Linked DNA regions of Homo sapiens: regions 1, 2, 3, 4, 6 and 7 are each linked to region 5. Evidence: promoter capture Hi-C in 16 types of primary human blood cells and fetal thymus (Javierre and others, 2016). All regions are on one chromosome and are shown on one strand. The core of a region is centred on a gene start or on the middle of the fragment in contact, and the rest is flanking DNA. Distances in the headings are between cores, read along the strand shown.

What was found. The method cuts DNA at HindIII sites, captures the fragments that hold promoters and counts their contacts. A CHiCAGO score of 5 or more calls a contact.
Region 1: a contact is called between a fragment that was not itself captured here and the fragment with the promoter of CHRM3 in region 5, in 6 of 17 cell types (naive CD4 T cells, naive CD8 T cells, activated CD4 T cells and 3 more). The highest score is 7.9, in naive CD4 T cells.
Region 2: a fragment that was not itself captured here is called in contact with the fragment with the promoter of CHRM3 in region 5 in 8 of 17 cell types (activated CD4 T cells, naive CD4 T cells, naive CD8 T cells and 5 more); the score reaches 10.6 in activated CD4 T cells.
Region 3: a fragment that was not itself captured here is called in contact with the fragment with the promoter of CHRM3 in region 5 in 11 of 17 cell types (total CD4 T cells, non-activated CD4 T cells, total CD8 T cells and 8 more); the score reaches 17.8 in total CD4 T cells.
Region 4: a fragment that was not itself captured here is called in contact with the fragment with the promoter of CHRM3 in region 5 in 1 of 17 cell types (naive CD4 T cells); the score reaches 6.6 in naive CD4 T cells.
Region 6: a fragment that was not itself captured here is called in contact with the fragment with the promoter of CHRM3 in region 5 in 6 of 17 cell types (naive CD4 T cells, naive CD8 T cells, total CD4 T cells and 3 more); the score reaches 10.2 in naive CD4 T cells.
Region 7: a contact is called between a fragment that was not itself captured here and the fragment with the promoter of CHRM3 in region 5, in 5 of 17 cell types (total CD4 T cells, activated CD4 T cells, naive CD4 T cells and 2 more). The highest score is 7.9, in total CD4 T cells.

What each region holds. Positions count from the first base shown.
Region 1 is chr1:239,826,422-239,829,981 of GRCh38, forward strand. It overlaps CHRM3 (cholinergic receptor muscarinic 3), which reads left to right. Exons shown (of 7, transcript NM_001375978.1): 6 at 831-957. Among named protein-coding and RNA genes, the nearest start is that of CHRM3-AS1, 72 kb to the right of the region's middle. The HindIII fragment of the contact is 9,020 bases long and covers 1-3,560 here.
Region 2 is chr1:239,857,299-239,860,814 of GRCh38, forward strand. All of the region lies in intron 6 of CHRM3 (cholinergic receptor muscarinic 3), which reads left to right. Among named protein-coding and RNA genes, the nearest start is that of CHRM3-AS1, 41 kb to the right of the region's middle. The HindIII fragment of the contact is 4,131 bases long and covers 1-3,516 here.
Region 3 is chr1:239,875,680-239,879,281 of GRCh38, forward strand. All of the region lies in intron 6 of CHRM3 (cholinergic receptor muscarinic 3), which reads left to right. Among named protein-coding and RNA genes, the nearest start is that of CHRM3-AS1, 22 kb to the right of the region's middle. The HindIII fragment of the contact is 5,293 bases long and covers 1-3,602 here.
Region 4 is chr1:239,771,113-239,774,521 of GRCh38, forward strand. The region is part of intron 5 of CHRM3 (cholinergic receptor muscarinic 3); the gene reads left to right. Among named protein-coding and RNA genes, the nearest start is that of CHRM3-AS2, 54 kb to the left of the region's middle. The HindIII fragment of the contact is 1,598 bases long and covers 555-2,152 here.
Region 5 is chr1:239,384,227-239,388,155 of GRCh38, forward strand. CHRM3 (cholinergic receptor muscarinic 3) reads left to right here and starts at 2,342. Exons shown (of 7, transcript NM_001375978.1): 1 at 2,342-3,001. RefSeq lists enhancers at 3,064-3,564, 3,565-3,929. The HindIII fragment of the contact is 9,736 bases long and covers 1-3,929 here.
Region 6 is chr1:239,806,803-239,810,244 of GRCh38, forward strand. The region is part of intron 5 of CHRM3 (cholinergic receptor muscarinic 3); the gene reads left to right. Among named protein-coding and RNA genes, the nearest start is that of CHRM3-AS2, 89 kb to the left of the region's middle. RefSeq lists an enhancer at 3,005-3,442. The HindIII fragment of the contact is 4,094 bases long and covers 1-3,305 here.
Region 7 is chr1:239,788,221-239,791,803 of GRCh38, forward strand. The region is part of intron 5 of CHRM3 (cholinergic receptor muscarinic 3); the gene reads left to right. Among named protein-coding and RNA genes, the nearest start is that of CHRM3-AS2, 71 kb to the left of the region's middle. The HindIII fragment of the contact is 5,345 bases long and covers 1-3,583 here.

The sequences.
Region 1 (3,560 bases), core at 1,049-3,548, 440 kb after region 5:
GAGAGAGAAAAGAGAATGTTCTTCAGCATCAGTGCATCTCTGGTTTCAGTATTATGTGGCAGCCATGTTCTGGAGGAAACCAAGGTCAGTGTAGCCTAGATTTTCAGGAGAGGACTGTGGCAAAGAAGCAAATATGCAAAAAAATTACCTTAATCTACAGGAATGAAGAAATGAAAAGTATCGGGAAAAGTAACCAATAGAAAAGCTACAGAGTTAATATGGGAGGAGGGCACTTTGTTAAATAGATTTTTGATAAAGGGTAGAAGCAAACACGATCCTGAATGAGAAAAACCTATAAGCAATGTACAAAATATGGATAAAATAAGATGGAAGAAAATGCCTCAATCTGCTGAGGGAAAATGCAAGAAAAGATCATTTCTACAATAGAGGAAAAGACATGAACCAATAAAAATAATAATATTTCTTTCCAGGCCAACACTAAACATAAGTTGCAGAGCTGGCCTGTGGTGGAACTCACAAGTCTTATTGGCAATATATGTGAGGAGACAAAAAGCAACATATGGAGAAATACAAAAATATACTCCCTAGAGATACTGCCTCTTCAGATGTCAAGAAAAACCTGGATGAAATGAAGCAAGAGTGGCACGCTGCAAAGTTACAAATTCAAGGCCACCCACAGAACCAAACATTAACACTTAGGTAACTTGCTACTGAAATAGTCCCTTTCTTTTATGACTTCAGTTGAAGACTCTAGGGAGGGAAAACAGAGACATTGGATCATTCTATGATGCTTAATGACTCCACCATTAAAAACAGGAATCCAAAGTGGGAGAAGGAACTGACTCCTTGCCTGGTTTCTGTCTTCCCAGGTGGAGCTGGTCTCTTGGGCAGCCTGACATCTGGTCCACTCCTCTGTCCTATGCCGGGATCATCATGACCGTAGAGATTATGTCACTGTTTTGCATCCTTGTTACATAACTCAGTTCCTGGTAGATTGTAAGTACACAGAAGGCATTTTTTTAATTAAAAAATGGATGACTGAATAGAAGAATGGACAAATTGCCTTTTTGTATTCTGGCCACTGTTGATTAGTTACGTGACCTCAATTAGGATATTTTAACTCTGTGTGTCTTTGTTTCCTCATTTATATGTTGAAGGTAATGATAGTTCCTACCTACTGCACAGGCTTCTTGAAGATTAAATGACATAGGGTGGGTAAAAGGTTTAGACTAGTACCTAGAAATAGCACGTTTCACTAAAAATTACCTATTACTCATATTATTTTTGCTAAGTGATTGTATAAACCTAATAAACATCATATATTTTACTATGCACAGATAATTTAAAAATCTTATAAATACAAATTTAACCCACAAAAAAAAATTCAACATAGTTGCCACCTAACAATAAAACCTTCCCTGCTCATTAATTCATTCGAGGCAGTAAGTCACATTGAACTGCAAATATTTTTACAGTGTCTAAGTGTGAAAAACTAGAATACCTTTAATGTATTTTAAATTAAAAAATCATTATAAAGTGCAGCATGTAATTCTTTACATTCTTTTTTCTAACACCTAGGAGACAATTTAACTTTGTGTTTCAGATATCTGTTATCATAAATTATTCATTCCTCATTCAACACATATTTATTAAACACCTACTACGTTCTAGATACAAGGGAGGCAATGGTGAAGTAAACACAGCTACTGCTCCCTTTGAGATTCTGTTTCTGTTAGGAAAAAGAAATACACGCACACAAATACACACATGGTGACACAGAGATACACATATATACACATACGGATATTCACACATAGATATAGACACATACATACATACATAGACACACATAGTTACACACACATAGATATACATACACATAGATACATTCATAAATACACACATAGACACATGCACATAAATATACACGTGTGTATACATACATACAGATATATACACATATATATATGCACCTATATAGGTACACATACATAGATACACACACAGGTGTATATATACACACACTTATACACACACAATGTTGTGGGACCATAACTGGCATGAAGAAAAATTATTACAAAGGGTAGAGCATGAATAAGATGGCTTCTATAGCGTATTCAGGGAAGGACAGTCTAATATAATAACATTTAAGCAAAGAACTGATTGAAGTGAGGGTGCTCTCTGGGAAGGGACCAGGTCAATGAAGACAAACGAGGAGGTGCAAAAGCCTGAGGTGGGAGCACATTTGGAGTATTCCCGGAACAGCATAGATGCAGAACGGACAGAGAACAGTGGGCAAGGGGAGAGGGGTATGAGAGAAGGTCGGGAAGGCACCTGGGAGCTAGAATATCAATGCAGATTTTGCTCTAAGAAAATGGAGGATATCAGAGGGACCCTGTGCTAAGGAATGATGTGATCTGAGTTAGGTTTTGGAAGTGTCACTCTGCCTGCTGTGCGGATAGCGGATGGGAGGAGATCTAAGATGAACAAAGGAAATCACTTCAGAGACTTTCAGGAAATGGTCATGGCTTGGACTAAGATTTGGGGCAAATTTAAAGTAGAGCCAAAGGGACCTGCTGATGCATGGGATGCACACTATGAGGGCTAGATCTGTGACTATATGTGACCTGCTGCAGCAGGTGTGCAGACACTTGCTTTCTTGAAATGTCCTTGACGTTGCTTTTGTTGTTGCTGTTATTGTTTTGCTTTGTTTTAATTTCTTTCCATCTCTGTGATTAAAGCAGAGTGAAGTTAATGAATCTCTGTGGCGAAGTGGATTGTTTAACTGTAGGTATGAGTAGAACTGGCAGTTCTAAGTCTAATTCCAACAGTGGGAATTTTGGCCCTTCTGAGCTTCGGTTTCCTCAATTATAAAGTAAGAAAAACCGCTAGCTTTGCAAGTCTGTGCCTCTCCTACCAAAAGCTATAGTATTGGTGTCAGTTTGGTCAAAGATTTTCCCAGTTGGTACAGCCCCCTGGGACTGGGAAGGCATTAGTTCAATTGACTGCAAGGACTGAATGATTTTTTTTTTTGAAAAAGAAAAGAAATTTTAAATTTTTTATGTTGATTGGCTTGGTTTCCATTGAGATCAAGGATTATTCCAGCAACTTTAGTTATAAAACACCTGCTATCTGTTACTGTATTTTACTTTCTATACCAAAAAAGCATGTATTTTCAGATAAATTTCAATATATCAATCTTTTGTGTTTCATCTTATAACAGTTTTACTAAAAATTGTTTGACTCATGTGGTCTTCAGGTTGGGGAAGGCTAGGACAGATGGCACAGCAGAGTGGTTAAAGCAGGGTCTCAGAGGCAGACTGCCTCGATGTGAAACCCAGCTCTGCCACTTACTGTGTGACCTTGGGAAAATTACTCACCCTCTCTGTGCTCAATTTCCCTATCTCTAAAATGGGAATAACAGTAGTACTTCCCTCAGAGCCTCAGAATTGCTAGGGTAATCAAATGACTTAATGTCCAATAAGCACTTAGAACATTGCCTGACACATAGAAACACCAAATAAGAGCCCCTTATAATTACTATTTTTGTCTCTACTCAAATACTGTACCTGCCTCTATTTTTGAAGAATTTGAAAAAT
Region 2 (3,516 bases), core at 571-3,070, 470 kb after region 5:
AATAGAAATATTTTTGACACTTCCATTTGGAACCAGAATCTCTCATATTTACTATCTAAAACTAAGGAGCCTTTCCCAAGTTAGTTTATTATGATACTACCACGAATAAGTTAAATATTAATCTGTTCCCTAAAGATAAGTTTTATTGCTTTGAAGGATGAAAAAAATATGAAATAATCACTTTGTGTGAGGTGTGTCTGTGTTTGTGTGTGTGTGAAGTAAAAATCAAGTTAGGAATAAAACATCTTTTTAAAGTTTATCTTATAATTCCAAACGAATCCCTGGAAACTGAACTACTGTGTGCCATTTGTTTTTGTTGAAATGGTTGTTAAATTATTCTGATTATTTAGCGATGCCAGAGGCTCTCTTAGAGTAATTTGATATATCACTCGGTGTCTTTGTTTCACCTCAGCTAGGTCCAGAAAGAGACCTGGAAGGGAGGTGGATAATCATAATAAATGAAAGCCAGCCTTTCTAGTTTAGTTATGCACAAAGGTTAAAATAATTTGTTAGCCAACAAAGTGTTTGTGCAATTACCATAGGTCTTTAATCATGTTTTGCCACTATTGCCACCTGTCTGAAATCTTAGACATCTTATGTTCTGTTATAACATTATTTGAAGTTGCCCCGAACATTATCTTATGTGATCCCTCAGAAAAAGGGGGAATTAATTGACATATATTATTGATATATATTATTAATTAAAATAGTTCATACTTTAATAACATGGCTATAAATGTGTATGTGGTTCCTACTGTGTCTCATCATAATTCTCATTGGTTACCAAAGAGCAAGATGACTTCACTTAATTCACTTAATGATGCACTAATTAGAAAGGAAGAACACTTCAACAATTAAATCCATTGACCAGTTTTCAATAGCTCTCCCACGCTGGCATCCTTGCTGCGATTTCACAATATTGCAGAACCAAGTGACATTGTTCTTTAATCATACACATGAATGCATTCACTCTAAGTATATGTTGAGTCATCCCTTTCCTTCTCCACCCTTCCCCCTTTAGAGCTCGGTTTTAGCTTTTATTGTCACTTGAATCAAATCAAAGAACAGCAGAAAAGAATAACATGAGGAATGTAAGTATCGTAGTTGGAGTCTGACTACCTGAAATCAGACTATCTAGATTCCTGTTTTGGTTTTTCCTCTAACTACCTGTGAAACCTGAAGCAAGTGTCTTAACCTTTATGTGCCATAGTATTTTCATTTGGAAAAAAAAAAAAAAAGAGAATAATTGTACTTGCCTCTTACAATTTGGGTTTTTTGCGTTTGTTTGGTTTTTTAAGGTAGAATTTATATAACGTAAAATTAGTCACGAATCATTTTAAAGTGTACACAATTCAGTGGCATTTAATTCATTCAGTGTTGGTACCTGTCATCTCTTTCTAGTTTCACAGCATTCTCATCACCCTAGAGGAAGCCCTGCATCCATTAAGCAGTGACTCCCCATTTGTTCCTAGAGCCCCTCCCCCAGCAGCTACCAGTCTGTTTTCTGTGTCTATGGATTTGCATATAGTGGATATTTTATATAAATAGAATTGTATAGTATGTGACCATTGGTGTCTAGCTTCTTTTGCTTAGCAGAACGTTTTTGAGATCCATCCACCTTGTACCACGTGTTCCATTTTATGGCTGCCTAATCATCCATTGGATGCAAATACCACATTTTTATCCATTCATCAGTTGATGGAAATTTGAGTTGCTTCCACCTTTTGGCCATTATAAATAAGGCTGCTATGAACATTTATGTACAAGTTTCAGGTAGACATATGTTTTCATTTCTTCTGGGCATATACCTAGTAATGGAATTACTGGGTCATGTGGTAATTCTACGTTTAACCATTAAAATAATTTATGGACTGTTTTCTAAGATGGCTGTAACATTTTACATTCTCCCAGCGGTGTATGAGAGTTTGTTTTTTCACATCCTCACTAATACTTGTTATGTTCTTTTTTGTTTGTTTCTATTTGGTTTTTATTTTGGCCAACCTGTTGGCCATAAAGTGGTATCTCACTGTGGTTTTTGACTTCCATTTTCCTAATAACAAATGAAGTTGAGCATCTTTTTATGGATTTGTTGGCCTGTTTTTTTTGTTGTTGTTGTTGTTGTTTTTTTTTTTTGTTTTTTTTTTTGAGGTGGAGTCTCACTCTGTTGCCCAGGCTGGAGTGCAGTGGCACAATTTCTGCTCACTGCAAACTCCGCCTCCCGGGTTCAAGCCTCAGCCTCCCAGGTAGCTGGGATTACAGGCATGCACTACGATGCTCAGCTAATTTTTAGTATTTTTAGTAGAGATGGGGTTTCACCATGATGGCCAAGCTGGTTTCAAACTCCTGACCTCAAGTGATCCGCCTGCCTCAGCCTCCCAAATTGCTAGGATTACAGGCGTGAGCCACCACTCCCAGCCATACTGTTTTTTAAATAAAGATTTATTGAAAAATAAGTTGTATTTATGTAGTGCATGCCGTATATCAGGCATTGTTCTAAATTATATATAAGTTCTAAGTGTTTTATATATATATATATATATATATATATATATAGTCATTTAATCTCAAAATAAGTATAGTATTATTATACGTAAAGCATGTGGACCAGTACTTTGCAAACAGTAAACCAAAGAGAACAAGCATGTCCCCAGGTGAACTCTAAAAGACCTTCAGGAATACTCTGAAACCAAGCCTCCAACAATGCAGACTGCAGTGTGTAGCCCAGAGAACCCGACAGTCGGCTGGTTGAAAGGAAGCACCCATTCTCTAAATTGTATGCAGCCACACAGAAAAGAAAGCAGCCTAAAAAATTGGCAGATGATTAGAATTTCTCAGGGAGTTGGAGCTGAACACTAAACTCAAATCAGAGCATCTCTATTCCAATGTCAGCTCTTCATTTACTAGGTCTGTGACCTTAGGCAATTCACTTAATTACATAAACAAGTCTGATATTGCATTTATAAAATGAAACCATAATAATCTTTATGAAAATTCACTGTAAGCTATAAAAGTACTATACAAAAACATTATTACTAAATGTATGAATACCCACATTTCTGCATTTAACAGCAAACATGGTATAAAAGCATACATGCATTTTAAAATTAAAATTATTATAGATATGCTTATCTATTAATTATTTCTAAATATACATGTACAGGCTGAGTATCTTTTCCCTGAAATGCCTGGGACCAGAAGAGTTTCAGGTTTCAGACTTTTTAGGATTTTGGAACATTTGCACATACATCAGGAGATATCTTAGGGGTGTGACCCAAGTGTACACATGAAATTTATGTTGCAGACACACCTTATACACATAGCCTGAATGTAATTTCATGCAGTGTTTTAAATAATTTTCTGCATGAGGCAGAGTTTGTGTTAAGTACTTATGTGTCAAATTTTCCCCTTGTGGTGTCGTGTCATGTCAACACTCCAAAAATGTCAGATTTTGGAGCATTTCAGATTAGGGATGCTCAACCTGTAGCAAGTGATAGGGTAGAATTGATAAATCAGTCT
Region 3 (3,602 bases), core at 863-3,362, 490 kb after region 5:
GGTCGCTTTGCATTCATTTTGCCCCACATTGTTGGTCTTCAATACTGGTGTTCGATTTAGCATGTTGGGGTAATGAGTAGCAACTGGTCAAAATTAAGTGAGAGTTATTGTTTTTCTGCATAATGTTTCCTGTGGTCTCTCCTATCATTTCTTCCAAGGCAATATCAAATGAATTAAAAGGCAGCAATTTACATTGAATTGCTCCCCCATTCCCAGATCAGAGCACTTATTGCCACTCCAGCTTCCCCCCTTAAAGGTAGTTTTATGAAATGTTGTAGGAGAAGGAAATAGCATCCCTTATAATAGACTACACCTCAATCCTTGAATTGTGGAGGTGAGAGCATCAAAAAAGCTGATTGCCATACCTTTCCCACTGGTGACGTGCTAAAGAACTCACTTTTGTTTCTCATTCAAAACCCGAAAGTGGCAAATATGTTCAGCTCGTTGGTCCAGTTTAATCTCTCGTTCAGATCTTAGTAGTATTAGCCCATTCTATAGGAATTATTTGAATAGCCAGCTTCATTTTAAGACATCTTCTTATATAACTGAACAATTAATTATACACAGACATAGTCCACTCCCTTCATATTGATCTTGTTTCTGAATATTAAATTATTGGTATGCATTTATTGTTAACACAACATTGCTATGGCTTATATCAGTTTTGGAAACCAGCTGGAGGTAGTGTAAGCAAAAGGGCGGATTGGTGACATGATAGCGAGGTATCTCAGGCAATCCGAGGGCAAGAAGAGAGCCAGGCTTATGGAAGGCCCTAACTGGAACGTGGAAAGCCATTAGGATCCTAGCAGTTCTGTGTCTTCAGCTGTGCCTCAGTTTCCTCTGCAAACCAACTCTCTCTATGTCTCTATATAAATGGTGAGTGGAAGATGACATTCATAGATATACATCTCCACTGTGCATGAGACCAGCCTCCACCATGGGATGCACTGACTGCCGTTCAGTCCCAGATATGCATTCCTGGGACAGAGGATGCCATCTGTCCTGTTCTGGTCAATCACATGCCTCAGAAGGGCAGGAATAAACAGCAGAAAGTAGGAAGCCAATTGAGGTTACTCGGCCTTTGGGGTATGCTATATATATGTCTCTCTCTTTGGGTTAGGCTGACAATCAGTTCCCTAGTGTTTACTCAGCACTCACTTCATGACCCTTACTCTTATTTGCTTAGCTTGGGGTTTCATCAAAGCAGGCACATTTGCAAGAAGTCATCTACTTATTGAACAACTCTCAGGAAAAGACATAAATGTCATTTTGTTTTCACCTTCTATGAATCATAGTTGGTATCTTCAACAGAGACAGCAAGTGCAAAATGTCTGGAAAAATCTCTGAGTTAGAAAAGACTTACAGAAAATAAGCAAATTTAGGTTAAAAATGCCCCATCTCTCTCTTTTTCTGAAACCCAGACATACACACACAGAGTCATCCTGTTTGCTTGCAATTTTAATCTATAAAAGGTACTCATAGGTAATTTAAATTCTAGTGAATCATCCCTTTGGAAACTAATTGAAAGTTTTTTTATTTTGAAATATCAAGGCATTTTTCTTTAAAATTCTATAGGAAGTTAGGGGCTTCAGGGGAGCCACAGTTTTATTTTTTAAAAGCATAAAATGGCAGTGGCACATGCCTGTAGTCCCAGCTAATAGGGAGGCTGAGGCAGGTGGATCACTTGAGGCCAGAAGTTCAAGGCCTGCCTGGTCAACATAGCAAGACCCCATTTCTATAAAAATAAAAAAAAAAAGAAAGGAGAGAATAAAATGAATGGCTTTCAACTACGTGGTGAATAAACCCTAACTGGTGAATAATAATGTCAGTTTCCTTTTAGTTAACACCTGTTACATGCCAGATACTGCTATATATTATTTATAACTTTCAAAACTGCTGCAGAAAGTAATATCTCCATTTTATAGATGCAGAGACTGAGGCTAAGAAAGGTGAATTGAATTTCTTAAGGCCGTACAGCTCTGTGAAAGAATTCAAACCCAGGTGTCAATGGGCTGCTTCATGCTTCTTCTCATGAGGGGAAATATTCAGATTTTTTTTTTCTTTCTACAGATAATGCCATATCCAGCAGTCCCCTTTTGGCACCAGGGACCAGTTTTGTGGACGACAATTTTTCTGTGATGGGGAGGAGAGGAGGGGGTGGTTTCTGGATGATTCAAGTGCATTACATTTATTGTGCACTTTATTTCTTTCTTTTTTTTTTTTTTTAATGAGACAGAGTCTCGCTCTATCGCCCAGGCTGGAGTGCAGTGGTGCGATCTCAGCTCACTGCAAGCTCTGCCTCCCAGGTTCATGCCATTCTCCTGCCTCAGCCTCCCGAGTAGCTGGGACTACAGGTGCGTGCCACCACACCCGGCTAATTTTTTGTATTTTTAGTAGAGACAGGGTTTCACCATGTTAGCCAGGATGGTCTCGATCTCCTGACCTTGTAATCCACCCGCTTCGGCCTCCCAAAGTGTTTATTTCTATTATTATTACATTATAATATATAATGAAATAATTATACAATTCACCATAATGTAGAAGCAGTGGGAGCCCTGGGCTTATTTTCCTGCCACTAGATGGTCCCATCTGGGGGTGATGCAAGACAGTGACAGATCATTAGGCATTAGATTCTTATAAGGAGCACACAAGCTAGATCCTTCGCAAATGCAGTTCACAATAGGGTTTGTGCTCCTATGAAAATCCAATGCTGCTGCTGATCTGACAAGAGGCAGAGCTCAGGCAGTCATGAGAGTAATGGGGAGCAGCTGTAAATACCGATGAGGCTTCGCTTGCTGGCCCATACTCATCTCCTAGTGTGTGGCCCAGTTCCTAACAGGCCACAGACTGGTACATGTCTGTGGCCTGCATCTTGGAGATCCCGGCTATATACAGTAATGACTATCTTCTCAGTATTTTAAATTTTTTTTTTTTAATGAAATCTCTCTTCTTTCTCCCTCACCATATATACCATATATATGCCCTATATATCCATGCACTGACTCTGGGCCAGGTAGCTTGTCGGACATGAGGGCAAAGGGGATGATTAAGACCAGGCTTCTGCCCTCAGATGATTACAGGTGTTAAGGGAGGTGAGAATCAGATAGTTAAAATACAGGTCAGTTTACTCATTGCCACGTGAGGGTACATGCTGGTCACTCTGTAACTGCCTAGATGGGACACCCCTAATTCAGCCTGAGGAGGAAGGGCTCCAGCAGCATCTCGCTGGGGTTGACCAGGTGGCCATGGAGGGTAAGACAGGACTTTACAGGTCTACAGTGGCAAGTGCAGAGGTACAACAGAGAGAATGAATCCAAACTCCTTTACGTCAGGGGTTTTCAAATTTAAGTTTGCCTCAGGATTGCCTGGAGAACTGGTCTAAGCACTGATTGCTGGGTATCACCCCCAGAATTTCCAAGTCAGCAGGTCTAGGATGGGGCCCAAGAATGTGCATTTCCATTTTTTTCTTAAGACAGGGTCTCACTGTGTTGCCCAGGCTGGAGTGCAATGGCCTGATCATAGTTCACTGCAGCCTCAAACTCCTGGGCTCAAACAGTCCTCTCACCCCAGTTTCCCAAAGTGCTGGGATTACGGGTGTGAGC
Region 4 (3,409 bases), core at 104-2,603, 390 kb after region 5:
GTAAAACATCCTTTATTAGTTTCACATTTCAGATGATGCTGATTTTTTATTTTCAGTGAATAAGTTACCCAAACTTTTAATCTCAGAAGCATGTTAGCCGCCCTCTCCCTTCTTCATTTCATCCAATTATCATTCTCAATAATTCCTCGCAAATATCTCTTCAGTTCTAGCCTCCTTCCGTTTGCACCTTTGGGCTTGCCTCCTCTCTGCCCTGGATTATTGGAATAGCCTCCTAATTGATCTCATTCCCTGAGACTCCTTGCTCCAGACTCCTCTCCACACTGCCACCTGGATTCCCGCCAAAAAAGAAAAAAGAATGGAAATCTGTTCATACAGCACCTCCACTTCTAGCAAACTCTCCTACAGAAACACTCGCTTCTGAGCACAAAGATGTATCAGGTTATTCGTTGCAGCCTTATTTGTGACAAAATAACTGTGTGACCTAAGTGGACGTCAAGGCAGAAATGATGAAATTCATTCTAGTGTGTACATAATGTAGACCAAGGGTCGGCAAACATTTTCTGTATAGGGGCAGATAGTATTATAATATATCAAGCTTTGAGGGCCATGCAGCCTCTGTCATAATTACTCAACTTTGCCCTTATATCAAGAAAGCAGCCAGAGATAATACACACACAAATGGGTGTGGCTGTCTTCCAGACAGCATGCCACATTTGGCCTACAGGCCCATAGGTTTCAAAGCCCTGTTTTAGATAAATATGCAGATATGAAAAGCAGTGTGGTCAATCTGTATGTGTGGACAGGAAAGGATATCCACAGTATATTCTTAGGTCAAACAGTAAACTACAAAAATATCCTCTATTTCTTTGTGGTTCTATCTTGGTTAAAAAGATAGATACAGAGACAGAGAGGAGATAGAGACATACAAAGAGAAACAAAAGAAAGATAAAATAGGTGATACAGTGTGCGTAAAATTGAAAAGTCCAGAGGAATATACAACAATTGTTATTAGCATCTTCCCCTGAGAGGGGTGGGTATGAAGACAAAGAAAGAAACTTTCCATTTCTATGTATATACTTTTCTTTTTTTTTCTTTGAGACGGAGGTTCACTCTGTCACCCGGGCTGAAGTGCAATGGCGCAATCTCAGCTCATTGTAACCTCTGCCTCCCGGGTTCAAGCGATTCTCTTGCCTCAGCCTCCCGAGTAGCTAGGATCACAGGCATGCACCGCCACAACCGGATAATTTTTTGTATTTTCGTAGAGATGAGGTTTCACCATGTTGCCCAGGCTGGTCTCGAACTCCTGACCTCAGGTGATCCGGCCACCTCGGCCTTCCAAAGTGCTGGGATTACAGGCATGAGCCACCATGCCCAGCCTATACTTCCTTGTTATTTAAATTTTTACATGATTGTGTATTATAGTTATCTTACAGAAAAACGTTGAAGTAATGAATCATCTCCCCAGATCCGACCCTATTCTCTGCTGTTTAAAGGCCTTCTATTGTTCTACGTTGTCTACAGGCTAAGCTCTAAGCAGTTTGTCAGAGCATTTACAGCAGTTTACAGTCTGCTCTGGTCTCATTTCCTATCTTCCAGTCCTTTTTTGCAAATTCTCCTACCCCACTGTACATGATGCCTTTCTGTGACTCCCTCTCTATACAATTACCCCTTGTTTCTCTGAATAGCTTTTGCCCTGCTTTTCCTTCCAACAAGCTCTTACCCATACCTCACTGCCGCAGCCAGATATCCCTCCTCTCTCATGTCTTTCCTGTCCCCTAAAGGCAGAAGTTGCTTCCAACATTTTATTTTAATGCATACGTGTTTCTATTTTTCATCTCCACTGTCAGACTAAGTGTCTTCAAGCAAGGATGTTGTTTTGTCATTTCTGAATCCCCACACTCAGCACAGAGCCTAGCACCTGGTAAACACTCATTCAATCTATACAGAGGAAGACTTTTTTGAGATGTTTTGAGATTCTTAGTGATATGATAGGGAGATTTTGACACTGAAATTTAAAATGTTTGGGAAAGTCTACAACATACACTCATATGTCAACAATTTTTAAATGTCCTGATCTAGGAAAGGGTTACTCACTAATGATCTGTAAGAGGGGAGTGCATACTTGGGTCTGCTGTACCACCGAAAGGTTGTAGGTATTCTCAGCATCTTCTAAGTAACCAACACAAACCAAAGCTTTTTACATTGTTCATCGAATAGCACATTCTAGTCTAAGTTGACTTTATAGCTATATTTATCAGCTGCAATTAATAAAATACCCTATTATTAATGACTTAAGTAACTGTTTACTTATCTCAAATATGAAGAGGTCTGGAAGAAGGTAGTTGCTGCTATTGAATTAACTACTTAACCCTGGCATTAAGAGAACAGCCTCTTTCCATCTTTACTTTTGCTATTTCTTACTATGTTGGGTTTCATTCCCATTCTCATTGCTTTGTATAACAGTTGCAAGGTGTCTACTGCACTACCAGAAATCACAGCCACATTCCAGGCAGGAATGAAAGTAAAGGAGCAAAAGACTTTCTTTTCTTTGTCTTATAATTCTGAAAAGGAAGTCCTCACTAGCAGTCCTACCTTCCATTGGCCCCTCACACTTGGCCCTTTAGCTATCAATCACTAGTCAAGGGAAATAAGATGAAGATGGCTAGTTGTAATCAATCATGCTTCAATCCCTAGACTTGGGAGGATGAGAATAACTCCTGTAATTAAAGGAATCTGCATGTTACCTCAATGCATAGGGGTTTCGTTAGAATGGAAGAAGGAAGGAGAATGAATCTTTGGTGAGGAAAGACTACCTGCTCCAATACTCCTTAGCCATTATCAGATTGGCAGGTAATTAGATTTAGAGATACTAGAGAAATAGTTAGACAGGAAGATTCTACTGTGTTCTGCTGTTGACCAGCTATAGGTACTACCTGAGATAATTACTTAGATTCTCTGGACTTTTTGTTCTGTCTGTAATATATGAGAAAATACCACGTGTCTCATGGGTTTATTGGGAGGACTAAACCAAGGTAACCTAACCTAAATCCTAGCATTTATGTGTCCCGTGATCAACATGCCAGTAATACCAGGACTCTTCCTAATTGGTCTGTATGCAGGGATTGAACTTGCTTGATTCATCTTTGTCCTTGAGTTTCGGTCTCTATTCCATTCCACTGGTGTCACTGCTCTTTTTACAGCTGTGGCTGGGTGAGTTAGATATAAATTGGGTACTTTTAATGTATTTTAATAGTCGTAGTAGGAATACCTAGCCAATGTGCTTATTTAGAGAGGGATGGGGTGGGTACTCAGAACAATAGGAGTTCCTGTGCTTGCTTAGTCATGAAAGCCAATTAGTCTTTCAATGTGGGGAAAAGAAAGATTTTTATAATCAGGAGGTAGAAAAAGAAAATTCAATTTAAATCAGTGCAGAATGAAATTTCTTTTG
Region 5 (3,929 bases), core at 1,092-3,591:
GTGAGTGCTATTAGCTAATTGTCCAGAACCAGAGTCTCATTTCATAACTGCATAAATCCTTTGCTTATCTTGTGTATTTTTTTAAACAAACCTAAAATGCAGGATTTCTAAGTATTTTCCAGTTCTAGCTGATTTCCTTCATTTTAGATGAAAATCCAAAGGTAAATACTCTTTGGTTTCTGATTTTTGGCATCTTGTAAATAAGCATTGCCTCCAGTTTGGTTCATTCTCAGATCTATTAAGTATCCCATTTATATTTTCCTCTGAAATATAATTTGATAAATCTGCTGAATGATCGGGCACCAAGGTCAGGACCAATACCTTATTCAAGCCCAGCATGAATCCACTTACCAAGAAACTGGAGGCAACTCTGTCTAAACTGTAATTTGTTTGATACAAACATGCCATCTACATTTACCTTGTCCATAATGATAATGGGAAGGTTAGCTGAAATCAGGAAATACTGTATTATGAGTTTAGTGACTATTTACAAGTGGAAATGAATTTAATCTGGTATGATTTATTTTACTAAATTGTAGTTGCTTCCTTTTCTTTTCTCACTAGTCACAAATGATTTATTTCAGTATCTTCTCCAGAACATTGCCAGAGGCCAGTCTCAAACTTAACCATTGTATACATACCAGAATATTTTCATTAAAAATTAATAACTTTTGTCTTTCTCTGAAAACTACATAATCACTACTTGTCCATTCTTTTGGTCCTTGCCTGTTCTTTATGGATCAATATTATCAAAGCTACTCCTGTTTCCACAGGCAAATAACAATTCTATGTAATGGGAAAGATATTAAATCCGAATTCATGTTCCTCTTACTAGCTATATAATGGACAATTAAATTATTCCTTTAAATTCCTTTCTCCTTTAGTACACAAGGATAAAATACTCATTTGATTGTTTTAAAGATTAAAGAAGTATCTGAAAGTAACTGTTATATTTTCTTCTGAGAGGTATCCCAATAAAAAGGCTACAATATTGTTATTATTATTACTATTCTAGTATCCTGGATGCAATTTACCTAAGCCTAGATATTTTAATTAATTTAAGTAGCCACATGCTTTCTCACTAGCTATTTTCCCAGCATGATCTCAATCTTTTCTACGCAAAGTTTAGTCTCTTCTCTCCTAAAGATTGTTCTACCTAGAGAAGAATATAGGTTCAGAAAGGAATTCATATACTGGTGTTTCTCTAATCTCTTAGAATTACTTAATTTTTCAAAGAGCTCTATCTTTTCCTATTTATCTTCTTGTTCCAAATAGAATTAAAATCATTTGCTGCCTTTAATATTGTTAAATATTTCATTTCATACTATGCTTCAATTTCTTGCTTTTTTCTTCTTTTTATCTTCCTCCTTCCTTCCTTTTTCTTTCTTTTCTTCTTTTTCAGTTATCATTGTTATGCTTGTCCTTTCTTGTGAGATTCCTCTGTTATCTTTCCTTATGTGCTTTTTAAACAAAACCTCGAGAGTGCCGTGGGACAGCCTCATTGGTATCTTTTCAAATTTGGTATCTCTCCACTTTTTCCTTACATAGTTAGCTGGCAGTAGTACATAATAACCTTTTCTGTCTCTCTCTCTTTCTTTCTTTCTTTCTTTCTTTCTTTCTTTCTTTCTTTCTTAGATTTTCATTCCTCTTGAGCTTTAAAAGACTGGCTAGCAATGTTATATCTTTCATTTTATTTTCTGATTTAAAAAAGTGTGTGTGTGTGTGTGTGTGTGTGTGTGTGTGTGTGTGTGTGTACGCGCGCGCGCGCGCGCGTGCACGTCAGTGTCTTCTTCATGGATGCTTGTCTTATTTTCTCCCAAGGTGTAACTGTCCAGGGAGGGAAAAGTCAAGTCGTCCTCTATTACACTGCTCTGCAGAAACAGACTCACTAAATGTCAAAAAGTAGATGCATCAGACTGTTCCTTAGAGAAAGGTTTGCCATGGAGTCGTATATTGTAACTGAGCTGAAGTTCACTCATCGATAAGTTGTGCCCAAGGAATCGAATTCCTTCCAGTCCTTCTAAGCAGTCCAGGGAAACCAATTTAAAAGCGAACACAACAAAACTAACAGACCGGCAAAATCTATCTTTGAAGCGCCGCGGGAGGCACAATTTGGGAACAGGTGAGGCCATGCTGGGTGGGTGAGGCCCCCCTCTCTCCTGCTTGGTGTTCCGCTTTCAGCCAACCCACCCCAGGAGTACCCTGGGATCTCCTCGCCCCCTGCCAGGCGGAGAACGCGGAGCCCAGCGGGCACGCGGGAATGGAGCTAGGCGCCGGCAGGGCAACTGGGCATGCTCAGAAGCCGGGCAGGTTTTGGTCTCAAGCACGCAGCCTGTGCATTACACCAGCTCTCTCAGTCCGGGGAGGAGGAGGAGCAGGAGGAACGCGAGGAGGAAGGAGAGGAGGAGCGGCCAGCAGTAGCCACGACCGCCACCACCAGGCAGAGGAAGAGTTCGTGGGGAGGAAAAGACCTCTCCTCCCCCTTGGAGCGCCTTCTCTCTGCTTTTGGAGAAAGGGAATACACGATAAAGAAGGAGACGGAAAGAAGAGAAAAAGTGAGGCGGGAGACAGAGGGAAAAGGGCGTGAACAGAAAGGGCCGGAGCGTGCAGGGGAGCACAGGGCGCGGGGGCGGCACTGCCGAGCCGGGAGCGCTGCCGCTTGGGCAGGTGCCGCGGCCGCTGCCCGGAGGCGGCATGTGACGCGCGGCCGCAGCTGCCCGCGGGCGGAGCGCTCTCAGACCCCGGAGCGCACACCGCGGGGCCATCGGTGCCATCGCGGATCTCCAGGCTCCTCATCAGTCCGCCGGGGCCGCAGCAGCGCTTCTGGGAAGACGGGCGATGAACTGAAGGGCGGCTCCGGGCAGGGGGGCACGATCTTAAGGACAGTCGCTCCCTGAACGCGGAGCCGGAGGAGACGAAGGGAAGGTGGAGCGGACGCCACCCGCGCACCGGGCAGGCGCGGAGACCGGCGTGGGACAGCCACCTGGAGCGCAGCTGCCAGGTAGGGACGGCGCCCGCCACCCAGGCGCTGGGCAGAGCGGGTGGCGGTAGCGGCTGACCTGGTTTCTTGCCTTATCTCGTTGCGAAAGGAGGAAAAAGTTTTCGGCGCGGGTAGGAGAGGTCTTGTGTTTGGAGTCCAAAGAAGGGGCTGGGTAGGGACGAGAGAGGCTGTTGATTTGGGGAAGATGGGGGCACTTGAATTCCGACAGCGCGATCTGGTGCGGAGTTGGAGTTCTGGGACTGAGGGTGGGGAACGCCCGCTGGCACTCAAGTGCCCCGAAAGGGACGGGAATCATGCGAGCGGTGGCCGGGAGAGAGTCGGGGACGTCCCACCCCGCTCTCCCTCGCTTCGATTCTCTCTTCGCCACTGCCGGATCTGAGGCTCCAAAGTGCCCGAGCATGAGGAGCTACTGGGCTCCGGGTGTGTTTGTGAGCGCACTCGTGTGTTGAGCGTTTGTCTCCCATCTCCCCATTTGGTTTCCTGTCATTTCTAAGAAGGCTAAAGCTGGCACCCGCCAACCTCGCAGTGGGGCCGCAAGTTCGGATTGCATTTCAGGGGGCGAGAAGGCAAATTTGGCACTTCGAGTAACACTTGGGCGAAGGTACCTAGCCTAGTGCGCATCTTTACTGACCCGGGGAGAGTCTGCACTCGCGAGGCAGCGGCCGCTGGACTGCACCGGTTCTCCTCTTTGGAACACTTCCTCAGCATAGCCTCCTAATAGCGAGGTTAATTTTTGCGTGTTTTTAAACGGCGGGGGCGGGCGGACAGTTGACTCCAGCAGCAGAATTCACTTGTCTACTTCGCGGTGTGCGTGCTGGAATTGAGATCCTGTTCTGCATGCTTGTGCGTGTGTCCGACTCTCCTTGCACGCATTTGGAAGTGGTAGAGGCAGCAGGGATTTGGGAACTGCATCCATATGGATAGGTTT
Region 6 (3,442 bases), core at 9-2,508, 420 kb after region 5:
GAGAAATGCTGGAAGAAGAGATAGAGTATCTGGCAATACTAGGTGTACTTCCATTACCTTTCAAGGCGTAAAATTAATAAACTGTTCACAGAAGAATTCCAAAGAAGCGTACATTCTGTTTTGAGAGTAGTACCTGCCGTCATTCCATAGGCTGCACCCAAGCCAGAGAATATTCTACTTGTTCCTGGCTCCACATGAGTTTTGATGGTGATAATAATGAAAATTTCCATTAATATAATTTCTTTATTTGGGGTTGGTATTAGATGATTGCATCCAAAAGCAAAATGTGATGATTTGACAAATATTTTCTTCTGCAGGTTTTGATTGTGAACACAATAAGAACATAAAAGAAATAAAAGTCCTATTTAGGTGGAAGATTATGTGACTTTTTAAACTTTAAAATGCAGTTTCTTTTTACTTCATTAGAGAAAGAAAAGTAGCTCCAACTCCTTAATACATCATTCTAAATAATTCTTCTTCTGGCCTTTTTATTATTGGATTTTCATTTATAGTACTATGGCAAGAATAATGTTTACAGATTGGCACAACCTGAAAAAGTCACCTTGTTTAAAATTGACCTACCATTTAAATATCATCATTTTGGCAATGAACACCTTCTAAACTTATCCTTCTCAATTGTGGGCATTAAGCCCATAAATAGGAATGCTACAGGGGGAATGAAAGGAGGGGTTACTTCCACCAGAAGAGAAGCCTTGGAGAAGTGAATGGAAAATGTTGCCTCTGTTTAGCATGAATGAGCCTGGGATTTAAATAACATTCTCAGGCCAGATAAATAGTTTTTCTTTGGCTTAGTAATCATGCATTGCATTCAGATATTTAAGTGAAATGTTTCTGGCTTTCCTCACTTCATCTTTGATCTTTACATGCTCTGTTAAATTTTAGCTCATCAACTTAATCACATTAAAAATCTCATTTATACCTTTTAGTATATAGAAGAGAAGCAGATTTGCTGTAAGAAACTGAGAGTACATGTAATTGAGTGTTTTTGCTTTGCGCACACACACACACACACACACACACACATACACACACACACGCACACATATCCCAAAATGCTGGGATATTCCAGAGTGATAAAAGAATTTGCTGCTTGGTGGCTGCATCATAAGTCATTATGATTATCTCATTATTCTTTTCTTCCCTCTGTTTCAAGCTGTTCTGCAATGAATATTCATTAGTTATATAAAACATGAAGTTTTTTAAAGAAACATATTCCAAAATTCCTTGGAATTCTTTATCGGTAATCGTCTGCCTTTTTATTTTTTGAAAAACTGGTTGTTTTGACCCCATATCTGACTAGCCCCAAAGTCCCAGTGTTTTGATGGGAGTTCAAATTCCATGGGAGTTCGAGGAAGACAGCCCTAGAGAAAGCTCTCCAGCTCCCTGTGACAAGTCGTAGCTGAAGTCAGATGTGCAGAAAGGAATTGCAATACTTTTTTTTGTTTATCCTCGTATGTGACCTTCAGGCAGAGTAAATCAGTACAGCTCTGATACCACTCAATAAAATGCTAGGTCATTTTATGGACAGGATTAATCTGCAACAGAGAAGGTGGAGATTCATGTTGGACATACGAACAAAGGGAGACAGAGTTTGCCCTAGAATGACACTGTGGGTAAGGGGACAGCTTCATCCTGCCTTAATTACCTGCTGTGTGAACTGTTTTCACTCCTGTGCGAGTGATCTTTCCCAGCTGTAGTACGAGATCAAATCTAACGGAATAAAGATGAGAGTCTCTTATTTGCCACCTAAAATGCCTAGCGATAGTTTTTGCCATATCGATTGGACCAATTCTTCGTGATAAGCCCTACCGCTTCCTATAACTAGAAGTGGATCATGAAGGAAATGCGAGTGAACCACTGATTTTATTCATAATCTCAGGCTTTTCCTGTACTTTCTGTGATAGCCCTCCAAAGAACTGCCCCAATACTTGCATTTCCTAGAAATACACTGTTTGTGAGAATTAAATCAGCACTCTCTTAGAAAACCCATCAGAAACGACTGCTTGTATTGGTGCAGTGGACAAGCAGTTATTGAAAAGGCCTATTTAGAATACTGCTTTTTCCTACTTGTAAAGTCTTGTCAAGTTCCCACTTAAGCACTGCATGTTACTTTTTACAAAAGGAAGAAATGAAGAAGTTGGTGAGTTGATATTTCCCTCACCCTGTCAAAGTCTGGGTCTTTGACTCTGAAGTCCATTTTTTTTTTTTTTTTTTGAGACAGAGTCTTGCTCTGTCACCCAGGCTGGAGTGCATTGGCGCAATCTCGGCTCACTGCAAGCTCCGCCTCCCGGGTTCACACCATTCTCCTGCCTCAGCCTCCCGAGTAGCTGGGACTACAGGCACCCGCCACCACACCCGGCTAGTTTTTTTGTATTTTTAGTAGAGAAGGGGTTTCACCATGTTAGCCAGGATGGTCTCGATCTCCTGACCACGTGATCCGCCCGCCTCGGCCTCCCAAAGTGCTGGGATTACAGGCGTGAGCCACCGCACCCGGCCTCTGAAGTCTATTTTTAATCCAAAGGCCTTAGAAGGTCAACTTCTGAACCCATAAGATTCCAGCAGTGAACCCAATGTCTGTTCGCCCACTTCCTCATTTTTTTCTTTCCATCTTCCCTCACTGTGTCCCCTTCCTAGGAATGAGTCCGAGGTCCACTTACTGTTTTTTTATTGTTTTTTGTTTGTTTGTTTTCTTGAGATGGGGTCTAGCTCTGTGGCCCAGGCTGGAGTGCAGTGACATGATCACAGCTCACTACAGCCTCAACTTCCCAGGCTCAAGTGATCCTCCCACTTCAGCCACCCAAGTAGCTGGGACTACAGGTGCACGTCACACCACCTGACTAATTTTTAATTTTTTTTGTACAGACAGGGTCTCCCTATGTTGCCCAGGCTGGTCTCGAAAGCCTGGACTCAAGCTATCCTCTTGCCTCGGCCTCCCAAAGTGCCAGGATTACAGGCGTGAGCCACCATGCCTGGCCTACTGTAGTTGTTTTCCAATTTGCTTCACCAAAGTCTCCTTTTGTCCTTTCCACTGAGATGTTTGGGCCTTATGAAAAGATAAGAAAGCCACACTCTTCTGCACCTGGGCTGGTAGAGGGATTCAGTAAAGATGAAGGTAGCAGGTAGTGTCTGCTCGACTAAGGAGGAGGTGTTATAGCTATTGCAGATCTTTATCTTGAGACGGGTAAGATTCTGCATCTGCCTTAAGATTCATTGCACTCAAAGGAGGCCGCGTATGGAATGCAGCCACCATTATTGTAGTGTTGATCTGCGTGTGCCAAGCCACAAGCTTGGGGGACAGAAGCTGATCTGTGTGTTGCAGCTGCCAGCATATAATGACTCTTCTTCCACGCATCCTTTTGCATTCCCTAGGGCCGTGATGAAATGCCAGCTGTGAGGTAATCCTCACCAAAAAGGGATCCTT
Region 7 (3,583 bases), core at 622-3,121, 400 kb after region 5:
GTGAGACCCCCCAACTCAAAATAATACCACAAGACAAAACGAAAAAATAGTTTTGTTTTTCTTCCCCTGAATCTCATGTAGAGCAAATATTTTAATATTGAGAAAGCAGACAACCACCAACCTTCAGCAATTAGATTTTTTTTGCATGTTGTATTTAGATTTTCATACCATTTCATATGATAGCCAGGTTTCCTTCCAGTGTCTTCTAAGGCCTACGTTAACAGTCCTTTAAAGGCAATTCATGTTTCAAATGATAACCCTGAGGCCAGGCACAGTGGCTGACACTTGTAATCCCAGCACTTTGAGAGGCTGAGGCAGGTGGATTCCTTGAGGTCGGGAGTTCCAGACCAGACTGAGCAACATGGTGAAACCCCATCTCTACTAAAAATGCAAAAATTAGCCAGGCGTGGTGGTAGACACCTGTAATCCTAGCTACTCGGGAGGCTGAGGTAGGAGAATTGCTTGAACCTGGGAGGCAGAGGTTGCAGTGAGCTGAGATGGCACCACTGCACTCCAGCCTGGGCGACAGAGTGAGAATCTGTCTCAAAAACAAAATAAACAAACAAAACAAACAAGTGATAACCCTGAGCGAAAGACTGTAATATACTTTAAATCTACAAAAAATGAAATTTTCATTCAATTGTAAAGTATATTTTATGCCATTTTAATTCTTTGAAAGGATATTTAATGTGTATTAGTTATAGTAATTCTAACTATTATATAACTTACAAACTCTAAAATCCCAGTGGATTAAAACAGCATTATCTTATATTTCGCTTGTGTAAGAGTCCACTTGGGGTCTTCCTGGTCAGGCGTCTTTTCTCTGAGTGATTTGAGGACCATTCCATCCTTTGGCTTCACCATGTTCAAATGTGGTCTCCAAGGTCACACTAAAGGTGTCTTCGTTGCACCCATTCAGAAGAGAAAAGAGCATGTGAGATGTGGTCATTGGAGGGTACTAGACCAGGTTTGAAGTGATGCATATTACGTCTGTCATGTCTCACTGGCCAGTGCTCAAATTATGCCTAATTACAAAGGAGACTGGAAAATGTCATCTAGTTGTATACTCTGGAGGAAGAAAAATTAATTTGGCGAAGATTAAGCAGTCTCTGAACAATAAATAAGCAATATGAAACAGGAATATACTTCTACCATCATTAAGCAGAACACCACTGTCTCAGTGCATTTTGCATTGCTATAAAGGCGTGCCTGAGACTGGGTAATGTATAAAGAAGAAAGGCATATTTGGCTCACAGTTCTGCAGGCTATACAAGAAGTGTGGCACCAACATCTGCTTCTGATGAGGGCCTCAGGCTGCTTCCACTCATGGAGGAAGGTGAAGGGGAGCTGGCATGTGCAGAGATCACATGGAAAGAGAGGAAGCAAGAGAGAGAGTGGGGAGGTGCCAGGCTCCTGTTAGCAACCAGCTCCCTCAGGAACTAAGAGCGAACTTACTCACCATCCCCAACTTCAGGTAGGGCAATAATGTATTCATGAGGGGTCCACCCCTATGACCCAACCACCTCCCATTAGGCCCCACCTCCAACACTGGGGATCAAATTTCAACATGAGGGTTGGAAAGACAAACATCCAAACTTTAGCAACCGCTTTCCCAGCCACACTGGATAAGTGTGGAGTTAGCTCAGTTTTGCAGATTCCTCATTAGTCTTTTGAAGAATAGTTAAGATCAGAGACCTGGATGTGAGACATGGAGTGAAAGGAGATCATTTTGGAGCTTTAAGATTTGACTACCCCACTGGATTTCAGACTTGCATGGGGCCTGTAGCCCCCGTTTGGCGAATTTCTACCATTTGTAACCCGTGTATTTACTCAATACCTGTACCCTAGGTGTATTTACTCAATGCCCGTACCCATTGGATCTAGGAAGTAACTAACTTGCTTTTGATTTTACGGGCTCATAGGCAGAAGGAACTTGTCTTGTCTCACATGAGACTTTGGACTGTGGACTTTCGGGTTAATGCAGAAATGAGCTAAGATTTAGGGGCACAGTTGGAAAGGCATGATTGGTTTTAAAATGTGAGGACATGAGATTTGGGAGGGACCAGGGTAAGAATGATAGGGTTTGGCTGTGTCGCCACCAAATTCTCACCTTGAATTGTAGTAATACCCACACGTCAAGAGTAGGACCAGGTGGAAATAATTTAATCATGGGGGAAGTTTCCCCCAAACTGTTTTCATGGTAGTGAATAAATCTCATGAGATCTGATGGTTTTATAAAGGGGAGTTCCCCTGCACAAGCTCTCTTGCCTGCCACCATGTAAGACATGACTTTGCTCCTCACTCACCTTCCACCATGATTGTGAGGCCTCCCCAGCCATGTAGAACTGTGAGTCAATTAAACCTCTTTTCTTTATAAATTACCCAGTCTTGGGTATGTCTTTATTAGCCACATAAGAACAGACCACTACAATCAGTTTCCCCTGTCTAGCCTGGCAATTGTGGAAACCTAGGCAGAGAATCACAAAGCTGTTAGCAGATCTAAAATTTGAAGAAAAGCTCCCTGACCTCTTTTACAGAATATTAGTTCCTAAACCTCATTAACTTCCTGGAGCACAAATGTGATAGAGCAAGGACTGTGCTTGGGCCTCAAAATATAGCTTTGTGGACATCAGAGTCAATGGCAGGATAAAGTCTCATCTACTCCATAATGTAAAACATGTATAAGTTTGTGAAAAGTACTGTTAAAATGAAAAAGCATGATAAAATTTATTCACAGAAAAACAAGAGAGATTTTATTTTGTTTTTTGTTTTTTTCTGGTAAAATATCACCAAAAAATAGGAAAATATCTGTAGGAGTCGCTCCTGGAGAAAAAAAAAAAAAAACACACAAAACTAGCATGTCCCACAGCTTTTCTTTATTTTTGTTTATTCATTTATTTTTGAGACAGGGTCTCTCACTGTTGCCCATGCTGGAGTGCTGTGATGCAGTCTCGGCTCACTGCAACCTCTGCCTCCCAGGTTCAAGCAATTCTCCTGCCTCAGGCACCTGAGTAGCTGGGATTACAGGCATGCACCACCACATCCAACTGATTTTTGTATTTTTAGTAGAGACAGGGTTTCACCATGTTGGCCAGCCTTGTCTCGAACTCCTGGCTTCAAGCAATCCAACCTTCTTGGCCTCCCAAAGTCCTGGGACTACAGGCGTGAACCACCATGCCCAGCCAGTAAACATTTCTTTAAAAGGGGCATGTTGAGCAATTTCAGTAATACCATGAAAGGATCTGCTAAGCAGGGAGACTTGGGAAGAGTGAGTTGGTAGGATTGTGGCTACCTCTTTAGTGGCTGTAGAAATGTTACTACAGGCATTTCTGTTTTTCTAATCAGTTTTATTTTCTGATGTGTGAGGCAAGGATACATTTTCCCTGCCATCCTAAGACTGGCTTTGCCTTGGGAGATCACAAACCAATCAGAGGGCTCAGTATAATCTCTGCCAGCTCAGAGAGCTTGAGAAAAAAGAAAAGAAAAGAAAGAAAAGGGTTGGTGATATTTCATTAGGCACATAGGCACAGACACTGAGATGGGTAAGAAAGGAGGAAGCAGATCCTCAACGAGTTGTATAAAG